3 separate regions of the Homo sapiens genome follow, and all the other regions are linked to region 3. The links are contacts of gene promoters, found by promoter capture Hi-C in human tissues and cell types (Jung and others, 2019). All regions are on one chromosome and are shown on one strand. The core of a region is centred on a gene start or on the middle of the fragment in contact, and the rest is flanking DNA. Distances in the headings are between cores, read along the strand shown.

Region 1 (4,203 bases), core at 780-3,279, 290 kb after region 3:
CCTTTAAAATTTTTCAGGTTTTTTTTTTCTTTATAGAATTTACAAGAAGTATGGGTATGTTGTTAGGTACCATGTTAGTTCAACATGGCTTGTCTTGGATAATTTTGATATCACTAGTTTATCTGTATTAATACTTGCTTTCTTAAATTCTATGTTCTTTCACATGAATGTTGCTTTTAACCGTTTTTGGTGAGAGGTGGCTTGATATCTTTCTACGTCTTTGTTTTTGAGCTTTCTGCATAGTGTTATTTATGTGTGTCTCCTCTAAGGAGCATATAGCTGGATTTTCCACCTATCTAGTCTGCTTAGTCTATTTACATTATGATGAATACCAATTATTTAGATTTATTTCTATCATATTATTTTGTTCTAAATGCAACTCTTTTTTTTTTTTTCTGCTGTCCTCTAGAACCTCTCAGTCTGGCTTTACCTTCTTGCCTTCTATTGTACTGATAAGTTGTCTATATTCTTCTGCTTATCTCTGCTCCCTCCCTTCTCCCCTGATCTCCATACACACATGGATTGGGAAGCTGTAGCAGAGATTGCTAGGCTAGTTCCCTACTTTATGTCCAGTATCTTTTTCTTACTTTAAAACAGAATTCTTATTGCTAGCTGAGTGCACTGCTGACCAGAATGAAAATGTCCTTCCCAGCTTCCCTGACAACTCTATATAGCAAATGGGGTGTAGCTAAAGTGTGTCAAACTTCCAGGAAGTCTCTTTAAAAAGGAGGAAGTTCCAGCTGCCATCATGGACCAGGAGGTTGGGTGCCAAGCACTAGGATGGTAGAGCGGAAGGACAGAAAGAACTTGGGTCTCTAATAACTTTGGAGCTGCCATGCCAGTCCTGGGATGCCTTCTTCTATACTTCATTTATAGGAGAGAGTAATAAATGTCTCTCTTATTTAAGCTACTAATTCAGGGATCTGTTTCATTAGAAGGTGAATGCAATTCCTGATACAGAAATTATAGAAGGTTCTGGAATTTTTATTTCTTTACATGGCACATTAACTACCAAGTTTAGAAAACAAAACAATTCTTTTTCTAGTTAATTGACTAACTGTAGTTAACTGAATATTTAAAAGTCTTTCATGAAATTCAGTGTTCAACTGTTTCTTGTGTCCTGTGTCTTCCTTCCAGGTTCACTTTTCTTCTTGCTGGATGAAGCAGGCTGCAGTTGACATGCAAAGAAAAGCTGAGATACAAGAGTGAAGAGTCCTAACGGCATTCCAGCCTCCAGTGCCAGTGTCCTTACCCCTGCCTTTCTGGAGGTTTGATTATATAAGCCAACAAATTGTGCTTATATGCGGTCACTTGAGGCCAAAGAATCCTGACAAAAGGAGATAGAAAGCGACCGCACAGATGTGTTCCTGTGGCATTTGCCTAATTTATCTATAGTGAAGTAACCAGAAACAGTATGGATTCAAATTCTTAGAGAGGAAGTTGATTTTTTAAAAAAAGATAACGAAGAAGAAACTACATAGGAGAAGCACCAGAAGAGAAAGATAAAAATGAAGAAACTAAAAATAACATGGCTCAGAATGCTGCCTAATTTATCAAACTTGCCAACAGCAGCAGTTAGGGGTAGAAATATGTTCTTTAAGGGAAAAAACAGACAAAAGTTATCAAATAGTATTAGTCCTTAAAGAAACAATAAAAAACACAAATAATTGTCAATAATACAACTTTTTTTTTTTTTTTTGAGACAAGGTCCTGCTCTATCACCCAGACTGGAGTGTAGTGGTGTGATCTTGGCTCACTGCAACCTCTGCCTCCCAGGCTCAAGCGATCCTCCCACCTTAGCCTCCAGAGTACCTGGGACCACAGGCATGTGCCACCATGCCTGGCTAATTTTGTAACTTTTTGTAGAGGAGGTCTTATTATATTGCCCAGGCTGGTCTCCAGTGATCCTCCCGCCTCAGCCTCCTGAGTAGCTGGGACTGTGGGTGCATGCCACCATGCCTGGCTAATTTTTTAACTTTTTGCAGAAAGGAGGTCTCACTATATTGTCCAGGCTGGTCTCAAGTGATCCTCCCGCCTTGGCCTCCCAAAGTGCTGGGATTACAGGCATAAGCCACAACACCCAGGCCAATACGTCTTTATATTTCAATTATTTAAAACAGCCTAAGGACAATACTTGCATCCTAAATTTCCTCTTAAAACTCTCTGGCCACTTTGTACTCAAACACAATATATAAATGGTACATTTTACAACTTAATTCAAGACTTTACTTATTTATTTTGGCCAGGTCCTGTTTTCAGCACAGCGCTAAAGTTCCTTTTGCTGGGCATGCTGTGCCTTATATATTTTTCAAATCCAAGATTTTTCCCTTGACCATGACAGTAGAATAAAAAGCTCAAATTCAAGACAGATACTAATCTAGGACACCAACAATCGTTCCACTGAGGTGAGATTTTTAAAAATGCAGGAATAAAAATTCTATTATAACATTCACTTTATACATATTCTTCAATCTACATGATTACCTAAAAAGCAAATCATACATACATTCTTTATAATACATCAAGAGGAAATCTATGAGTTAAAATGGATATTTAGAAAAGAAAATAATTACCTTTGATGCAAGGTTGTCTACTAGAGCAATCATAGAATTCTTAAACAAGGTAGCAGCAGTCAGAGGTCGCTTGGTCACCTCTGTAATGCTCAGTTTGCCTTCAGGCCACATATTCTTGAGCACAGGATTTGAACTGAGAAGCACAGAAAAAACAATTCAAATGTCACATTCAAATAAGCTGGATAAAAACTGATAAGCAATTCTGCTGAAATGTATCCTGAGAATCATAATTGGACTACAGATTCAACTCACAAGGCCTAATTGGAATGATGATTCCATCCAGAAAATTATGCTACAAGAATAATGACTGATACTGCAATGCAAATTGAGATGTTTTTCCAAACTATAGCATATTTTAAAAATTATTTAAACTTCTTTAAAGTGACATCCTTATTATACCTACCTAGGACCCTCAAATGGTCAATATGGCTCTTACAATACATATATAAAACAAATTCATTTTTGTGATGGTTAGAAAATGAGGACAAACCACTAGTAGAAAAATGATCCTCAATGTCACAGCAGAAAACATAAAAGTGGCAATATCTTTGAATTAAAGCAAATAATTTATATATTAATAGAACAGGTAACACTACAGAAAGCCTGCTCTTTAAAAAAAAACACAGGTAGGAATATAAAATAACCATTTTTATATTGTCCCTCGTAAATCCCTTTACTGCAGTTCAAATTGTGAACAAATCTGTAGGTAGCATTGGCAGTTACAATATTTTATTGATGTGACATTAGGACTGTTGCAATCCAAATCTAAAAATGCATTTCAGGCCAATTTTCAGGTTAAAATTGTATATTCATAATTTTGCTCTGTGGAGATATTTTTAAAAACGTGTAGTGATCTCAACTGTCATTTTTTTTCTGGTTTCATTTTGGGTGCTTTTGATGTTAAAGCAGTTGGAACTCAAAATGTTGCTTGCTTCCTAGAAACTTTTATCAGAAAAAAACTTTTCTTAAAAAATTGGGGGTTGAGCAACCCAAATGTCCATCAATGATAGACTGGATTAAGAAAATGTGGCACATATACACCATGGAATACTATGCAGCCATAAAAAAGGATGAGTTCATGTCCTTTGTAGGAACATGGATGAAGCTGGAAACCATCATTCTTAGCAAACTATCGCAAGGACAAAAAACCAAACATCACATGTTCTCACTCATAGGTGGGAATTGAACAATGAGAACACTCGGACAGAGGAAGGGGAACGTCACACACCAAGGCCTGTCATGGGGTGGGGGGAGGGGGAGAGATAGCATTAGGAGATATACCTAATGTAAATGACGAGTTAATGGGTGCAGCACACCAACATGGCGCATGTATACATATGTAACAAACCTGCACGCTGTGCACATGTACCCTAGAACTAAAAGTATAATAAAAAAAAATTGGGGGTTGAGAAGAGAAAATAATTAACATTAGCATTCATTGCTAATTGCTCTTACTACTGCTAACATTTTACCCACTTTTTTTCCCTCATATAAAATTTTAAAAATTGAGTTGGATCCCCAAAGCACTCAGAATATTTCTGTATGTAGGTGCTCAAAATAATAGCTGCAAGATGAAAGAGCAGATGAGCGCAGAGCGAAGAAGACAAATGGTAATGTGTGGATTGACTGG
Region 2 (4,496 bases), core at 771-3,270, 330 kb after region 3:
TGGTTAACCCGAAAATGTGCCCCTAAAATAAAACAGGAGCCACTTTCTTAGGGAACTGTCAGGCCTCTGAGCCCAAGCCTGCACGTATACATCCAGATGGCCTGAAGCAACTGAAGAATCACATAAGAAGTGAAAATGGCAGATTCTTGCCTTAACTAATGACATTTGGTGCCGTGACTTGGATCGGGGGAGCTCCCTTGGGAGATCAATCCCCTGTCCTCCTGCTCTTTGCTCTGTGAGAAAGACTGACTTACGACCTCAAGTCCTCAGACCAACCAGCCCAAGGAACATCTCACCAATTTTAAATCAGGTAAGCGGCCTCTTTTTACTCTCTTCTCCAACCTCTCTTACTATCCCTCAACCTCTTTCTCCTTTCAATTTCGGCGCCACCCTTCAATCTCCCCCTTCCCTTAATTTCAGTTCCTTTCCTTTTCTGGTAGAGACAGAGGAGACGTGTTTTATCTGTGAACACAAAACTTCAGCACCGGTCACGGATTCGGGAAGACAGTCTTCCCTTGGTGTTTAATCACTGCAGGGACGCCTGCCTGATTATTCACCCACACTCCATTGGTGTCTGATCACTGTGGGGACACTTGCCTTGATCCTTCACCTTGGTGGCAAGCACCACTTTCCTGGGTGGCAAGTACCAACCCCACCCCACTCCCTACCCCCACCCCCCGACCCCGGCCCATGTCTCTACCCTCTCTTTTCTCTGGGCTTGCCTCCTCCACTATGGTCAACCTTCCACCCTCCATTCCTCCTTCTTCTCCCTTAGCCTGTGTTCTCAAGAACTTAAAACCTCTTCAACTCACACCTGACCTAAAACCTAAACACCTTATTTTCTTCTGCAATACCACTTGACCCCAATACAAACTCAACAATGGTTCCAAACAGCCAGAAAACAGCACTTTAAATTTCTCCATCCTACAAGGTCTAGACAATTATTGTCGTACAATGGGCAAATGATCTGAGATGCCTGACGTCCAGGCATTCTTTTACACATCGGTCCCTCCCTAGTCTCTGCTCCCAATGCGACTTGTCCCATATCTTTCTTCTTTCTCTCCTGTCTGTTCCTTTAGTCTCCACCCCAAGCTCTGAGTCCTCTGAATCCTCCTTTTCTACAGGACCTCTCCCCTCCTCCCCAGGCTGTGCCTTGCCAGGCTGAGCCAGGTCCCAATTCTTCCTCAGCCTGTGCTCTCCCACCCTATAATCCTTTTATCACCTCCCCTCCTCACACCCGATCTGGCTTACAGTTTCGTTCCATGACTAGCCTTCCCCCACCTGCCCAACAATTTCCTCTTAAAGAGGCGGCTGGAGCTAAAGGCATAGTCAAGGTTAATGCTCCTTTTTCTTTATCCGACCTCTCCCAAATCAGTTAAATATCCTAAAGACCCCCATGGATTGTATACTCATCTAAGAATGAGTCTTCTCTATGGGGTTTCCCCTGCAATTCTTTGATAATTCTTTTTATTGCTTAAAACAGAGGTCCCTAAAACTTTCTGAAGAATGAAGCTATTTTGATTTTTTTAACCTGGAGCCTAAAGATGGAATTTGGTGGTTGGGGGTGGGGTAAGAATTAGAAGTGGGGAGAATAGGAAGGAATGCTTAGGGAGGAATATTCTCAACATTCCTTTCCCCAGGGTCTGCTGGCATTTCAAAGAGCAATGCCTTATATCCTGTAATAAAAGTCAGTTGAGCAAGATCAATCCATAGAGACCTCTGCCTTAGATGGTTCCAAAAATACTGCTGTTAGGAGAGGGTTCAAAATATGAGTTCATTCAAAAGGATCCTTTTGATTGAATATGTATTACACATAAAGTGAACTGATGAAACATTCTGGAAAAAGGACTGATAATAATACCTGGCATTTCCTGTCCTTTTTCAACTGACTCTGATAATACATTTATTTCCTTAACAGTCCGACTTCAATATAACAAACAAAAATAAAGATTATACTTCATTATATGGCCATAAAGGATGCTATGGCCTAACTGGGATAGGAAACCCTTAACTGAGAAAACCTGTCGGCTTAGATCTGTATGAATTCAAGGTGGAGACTTGATTTTATAAAGCACAAGCTTAACTGTAAAAATGAACTCTATGTATTCTCTTGCAGTCATGTCCACTGATAATCAAGATTAGTTAAGACACAACCAGCTGGGTGCAGCAGCTCATGCCTGTAATCCCAGCACTTTGGGAGACTGAAGCAGGAGGGCTGCTTGAGCCTAAGAGTTTGAGACCAGCCTGGGCAACACAGGGAGACCCCATCTCTACAAAATAAAAAAAAAATTGCTGGGTATGGTGGGCCATGCCTGTGGTCCCAGCTACTCAGGAGGCTGAGGTGGGAGGATTGCTTGAGCCTGGGGGGTTGAGGCTGCAGTGAGCCATGTTCATGCTACTGCACTCCAGCCTGGATGACAGAGTGAGACTCTGTCTCAAAAAACACAAAACCAAACCAGACACAACCTCTCTGGTGGTCCCAAGAAGAAAATTCTAATTGGAATCCTCTAGAAATTGGGCCTATTTTAAGTTTTTACTGACCAAATACAGTTCGCTTCATAATTAGGATGTAAGATCACAAAATACATATATGTTACTATAAAGCAATGAACAAATAGAAACTAGAAGAAAATGAGATATCAAATTAATTAAAATTAAAATGTATAGAAGATGGTGATGTATAAAAAGGCTAGAACTGATTAGTCTTAGATTGACTTTCGGTTAAACCTTACCCAGAAGCTGGCACACACTCATACCTGTGCCCCCACCCATTCACACGCATAGCTAAATCTATCTACAAAGTCCACAACTTTTTCCAACTTGACAGTGTAAGTGCTAAGAAGAGAAGACAAAAGGAGAATACCTTATCATAAAAAGCTAATGAAGAAGGGAGAATAGGATTTAAAGCTATTTTGAGTCAATAAAATAAATTCTATAAATATAATTTGTTTAAACATTCAGCACTTAAAACATTACCCTCAGAAATTAAGCATATTTTACCTTTTCTAGTAAGTAGTTATTGATATGCCCACCAATAGGGTCACCCTTGAAGTCAAAGTTGATATCCATGTATTTTCCAAACCTGCTTGAGTTGTCATTACGGTTGGTTTTGGCATTTCCAAAAGCTTCCAAAACACAGTTGGACTTAAGCAACATATTCTTCACTCTTTAACACAGATAAATGAAAGTCATTATAAAAACTTATAGAGACTAGAATTTTTTAAAAACTGGATTTTGCTAAACCACATACAAATATTTATACAAAGATGCTAACTCCAGCACTGTTTGCAATATCAAAAAAAAAACAAACAAATTAATGTCCACCAATAGGGATAAAAATAAATTTTTGTTTCCCAATATAATGAAATACTATACAGGTGCTAAAAAGAATGAGGTACATCAATATGTACTCACATGGAAATGTCCAGCATATATTAATGAATATAAAATCAAGTTGTCAAATAACATGCATTGCAGGATCCTTGTGTGTGTATGTGTATGTTCACGTGTGTGTGTGTGTGCATACACATGTATCAGCAAATGCTTAAAAATCTGGAGGGATCAGCACACCTTACTATGGTTATCTAGACAGGAGACTGATGGAATGGGCAAGGTAGGATTTCAGGGAACTTTTACATCTTCAACTTAATTCTGTAATTTTTGTTTTTCATTTTATAAATGTACATATTTTATCTACATAAAGAAAATTTTTAAAAAGATGTGTTCTGAAAAGGGAAAGAATAGGTGATACAGAAAATGATACAATTTTTAAGGCACTTGCTTATAAAACCTGGAATTGTGACATTTTATTGTACTTAGTTATACATCATAAATTTAATCTTCACTAGTTCAGAAATTGCTCATTATTTTCTTTGAAGCTGTATGGAATTTCTCCTTTGTACCAGCCATTTAATGCATTCTTTATTCGACGAATGCTAACTTTCTATACAGCAGTCCCTCCCAATGGATACATTTTAAACTTCATGCTATATCCTTGTTTTCATTCCACTGATAAAATTCTTCTTATACAGGCATACCTGCAGAAATAACTTTGGCCTCTGAAATAACTTGATGTAGAAGATCTACTGTTACTCCCGCTAATACTGGAGAGTTCAACCTTATCGCCTCATAAATGAAAGCATATTTTAAAAATATGTGTGTGGGGGGAAACTGCTTGTGATAAGATATGTTTGTGAAAGACTAGTAAATTTATATATGCCTTACTCTACTATTGTAGGTGTGAAATTAATTTATTTCTCATCTAGTTGCTCTCCTGAGCTCCTAAGGAAATTAAGAAAATTTACACATATCCCTGTCCTTGTCAAACTAGATTGTAAAGTCAGAGTAAGAAGGAGGGATATGTTACAATTAAGAAAAATGCCTCTCCTGGCCCAGCAATGCAGCCCAATATGATGAAAAGAAGAAAGGCTACGCAGGGTAGTGAAGTGTAAGTTCTCTTCTTTTACATCAACCCAATATCCTTTCTTCCTATTTAT
Region 3 (3,953 bases), core at 1,343-3,842:
ATCTAACTTAAAGCTTTTCCCCTGTCTCTAAGTCTCAGGCAGTTGAAAATTTGTGTTTGGTCTGCAGTTTCACTCTTTTCATTCTCCACCCTCTCACTCTGCTGTTTCTGGGTTTCCTCCAGGGTGGAGGAGGTTTTGGTGAAAGCAGAGAAGTAGGAGGAATTAAAAGAGGTCAAGGTCTCTTCTCTTACATGACTGATGACGTCAGAGGCAGAGACCCAGGTGCTGGTTCTTTCTCGTTGGGAGCATTTATGTATTCTTGTGTTCTTTGGAGGATCTACCTGTGGATCTCAAGACTCCCATCAGTGACTGCCTCCTGAAGTCCACACTTCCATCAACTTATTTCTGGGTCTCCTTACACTAGCATACGGTCCTACTGAATAGGTTCCTTTAAGAAGGTCCCGGATGATCTACCTTTTCAGCATCCTCTTGGCTCATAAGAACCTTGCCATGTCAAACACAGGGAGTGGAAGCTACCCTATTGTTGCCTTTTCTCCCTGTCCTATTGTAGAGTGTGCCAGCCAGCTTCCCTAATTCAGAATTCTGCAGGCTAGAAGTGGGTGCCCATCTTCATGAATGTGCACACATGCCAAACTCCTCAAGAGACATGTCTAGTTCATCTCAAAACTTTCACCATGATGATCACACAGGGATGGGCTCATAAGTTTCCACAGTCAGCAAGACTCACTAGCTTGGGAGAAAGATCTGGCAGACACTCCTAGTCTTTTACAGTGGGGGTCCCCAACCCTGGGCCAAGGACCACTACTGGTCAGTGGCCTGTTAGGAATCAGGCCTCACAGCAGGAGGTGAGCGGCTGGGGAGCCAGCATTACTGCCTGAGCTCCGCCCCCTGTCAGATCAGCTGCAGCATTATATTCTCATAGGAGGCAAACCCTATTGTGAACTGAGCATGCCAGGGATTTAGGTTGCCTGCTCCTTATGAGAATCTAATGCCTGATGATCTGAGGTGGAACGGTTTCATCCCAAAACCATCCCCCCTCCTCACATCCGTGGAAAAATTGTCTTCCACAAAACTGGTCCCTGGTGCCAAAAATGTTGGGGTCCACTGTTTTATGGTACTCCCTCTTTGTAGTGAGGCCAGCACTCTATCCTCTCCTATGATTTCTTCTAAAGCCTCCCACCTCAGCCTCCCAAGTAGCTGAGACTACAGGCGTGCGCCACCATGCCCGGATAATTTTTGTATTTTTAGTAGAGTCGGGGGTCTATGTTGCCCAGGCTAGTCTCAAACTCCTGGGCTCAAGCGATATGCCCACCTCGCCCTCCCAAAGTGCTGGGATTACAGGCATGAGCCACCGCGCCTTGCTAGAAGCCATTTAATCCAACTCTCCATCAAAGTCATGAATCCTGTTTACAACAACCTGATGAGATGTCAACTACTTTTCACGTGAACACACCCAGGAATTAGGAAGGCATTCCCTAACCGGCAGCTCTTATCTCTCCCAATCACGATTTGAGCTTCACCAAATAACTCAAACCCCTGTTTCCTCACATATTAAAGGGGAGTAAATATCTGCTTTACAGAACATTGTTGGGAGAATAAAAGGAGATAGAGGAATATAAATGGCCTAATCCACTTACAGAGGAGGGTGTGCAATGTTAGTCCCCTTTTTGCCTCCTTTTATGGGACAGCACATTCCATTTTTGGATCGTCATCACCTAGAGAAAGGTCTTCCTTAATACTGAATTGTCTTTGTATCCTTTTAGCACCTTTCTTAAGTTTAACCCTAAGTGGTCTCATAGAATGTCATTTTTCCGTCCACACGACGTCTTCACTGATATCTGTGACTTTAGTTGAAGGGGCTGAAGATATTGGGAAGAATAATTCAATTTTTTCCTTCCTCCGTCCCTCCCTCCCTCCCTTCCTTCCTTCCTTTTTTTTTTTTTTTCTTTGAGCTGGGGAGCTGGGTGAGGCTTCTGTGGATTCCCAAGAGGTATTTGTGGCGTGAATGGAGCAAAGGTGATGTTTCACTTCATCACGTCCAGCACTGTCCCAAGGTTAAATGGGCGCGTGAGGACAGTTTTCTCCGGTCCTGGCGGGTTTGCCCACCTGCCGGCCAGCGTTCTGCGGGAGTCAAGCCTGGAAAGCGTGTGTGCGGCGCACAGGCGTCAGACACTGGAACGCATTCGAATGGTGCTATTCTTTGCCACATAGCGAGCACTTTATAAGGTCACTTATCGTCCCGAATGAATGGTTAAATCGTGGAAGCCGCAAAGAAAGCCACGCAGCTTTGACTCAATACCTAGCCCAGTACTCAGGAACCCCTCTCAGGGGTGCGCGAGCGGGGCCGGAATCAAGAAGCCTCTTTTGGGGTGGGCGGGGACCGATCTAGAGCTCCCACTGCGGGGCACCGCCTCTTTTCCTCGCCGGCCGCCCGCTAGGAGGCGCTGGGGAGCTTGCAGCCCACCTGCGAGGCGGTCCCGCTCTCCCCACCCCTCAGCCCGCGCCCGGCGGAGAGACTACAACTCCCGGAGTGCTCTGGGAACGGAGCCACGGGAGCTACAGGCGGAGGGACCCGAGGGCGGGCTTTCCGGGTGTGTGTTTCCGGCGTCGGCGGCCGCGGCCGGGGACGGTGTGAGAGCGGTAAGATGGCGGCGGCGGCGGTGGTGGAGTTCCAGAGAGCCCAGTCTCTACTCAGCACCGACCGGGAGGCCTCCATCGACATCCTCCACTCCATCGGTAAAGGTCGCCGCGCCGCCTCCCCGGCCCCGCCGGCCCAGCTCGGCTTATGTCGGTCGGCGGCAGCGGAGAGGGGCCCGGCTAGCCGGCTCTGATGCTGCTGACTCACTGTGTGAGGGGGGCCGGGCCGGGGGCGCAGGCCGCTCGGAGCTCCCCAGAGCCTCCCAGGTCTCACTCTTGTGGGAGGGCTTGAGGCAATCCCCGGGTCCCCTCGCCGGCTGCTGACTCACGGGGGGCTCAGCGTAGGGTGGGAGAGTGGGCCGAGCCGGGCCCCCGGGGATCCCTCCCTAGCCATGTCCCCGGCTCTGGCCCGCACGAGCTGGTCTGGGACCCGGAGCAGTGCCGGCCGGCGTGCTTGTCACGGACTGGTCCTAGAGTCTCTACTTGAAAGGCCTTGGCGAAACCAGCTCTGGACAGGCATTTCCCGCCGTTGTAATCAGCACAGCCTGCTCCGGGTGGGAGCGCGAGCGCTTGCTCTTCTCTGGGAGTTTCCTTCCACGGGACGCTGGGAGCTGCTACTCCTCAGCCCCACGGCAGAAAGCTCCACTAAGAGGAGGGTCTCTTTCAGAATGTGGGAAATTCAGGGGTGACACACACCTCAGATTGGCATTTGGTTTGTGGAGGTGGCCGAGACGCTCATCTGCTCTGTGTAGGGTGTAAGAGTGAGGTGTTGGAGCGGGACCGCCTGGCTAGAGGAGGTGACTAATCTTTCCAGACTGCCTGTAGGGGTTGGAAGTGAGTTAAGGGAGTTAGTTGTCAGCCGCGGAGTTCAGGGAATTCTTTGGAACGGGTCGGCTGCATGTTGCCGGAAAAATTAAAATTTCTTAACGCTGTAATAACGATGGTCTTACACCTACACACAACAGGAAAACTGAAATGGGAATCCCAGCCAGTCGCTTCCGGCAGCTTTCTGTTGGGATTCAAGTGTGAACAGAAATTTATTACGACAGAAGAAGACGTTAATGTTCACTCATAAAGGATTCAATTAGGGCTTGGACTAGCTCTTCACTGCACATGTAATGGCATCTTTGTAGTGTAGTTTGGGAAGATCTGAATTGGCTCAACAAGTAGTATGAGAATGCACCTGTATGTGGGACTTGCAAGATGTTGGCATTTGACTTAGTGTGTTGAATTTTGGTATTCCAGACCTGCACGGAGAAAGGACAATGACAAGATCTTGATACTTTATCATTGGGGATACTAGAGAAGGAGAGGAAGTGGGCGTCAAGGTGTATCTTTGAATGATATTGGTAAAA

Evidence for each region. Contacts are between HindIII fragments. The study calls those that stand out against the background at their distance.
Region 1: a contact is called between a fragment that was not itself captured here and the fragment with the promoter of PSMD11 in region 3, in 2 of the 25 tissues and cell types used here (dorsolateral prefrontal cortex and hippocampus).
Region 2: a contact is called between a fragment that was not itself captured here and the fragment with the promoter of PSMD11 in region 3, in 1 of the 25 tissues and cell types used here (dorsolateral prefrontal cortex).

The regions. Positions count from the first base shown.
Region 1 is chr17:32,735,680-32,739,882 of GRCh38, forward strand. MYO1D (myosin ID) reads right to left here. Exons shown (of 22, transcript NM_015194.3): 14 at 2,574-2,706. Among named protein-coding and RNA genes, the nearest start is that of MYO1D-DT, 140 kb to the right of the region's middle. The HindIII fragment of the contact is 8,518 bases long and covers 1-4,203 here.
Region 2 is chr17:32,772,864-32,777,359 of GRCh38, forward strand. It overlaps MYO1D (myosin ID), which reads right to left. Exons shown (of 22, transcript NM_015194.3): 4 at 3,001-3,166. Among named protein-coding and RNA genes, the nearest start is that of MYO1D-DT, 100 kb to the right of the region's middle. The HindIII fragment of the contact is 4,466 bases long and covers 1-4,253 here.
Region 3 is chr17:32,441,918-32,445,870 of GRCh38, forward strand. PSMD11 (proteasome 26S subunit, non-ATPase 11) reads left to right here and starts at 2,593. Exons shown (of 14, transcript NM_002815.4): 1 at 2,593-2,697. The coding sequence starts at 2,607. RefSeq lists a silencer at 2,313-2,482 and enhancers at 2,374-2,989, 2,603-2,682. The HindIII fragment of the contact is 9,367 bases long and covers 1-3,953 here.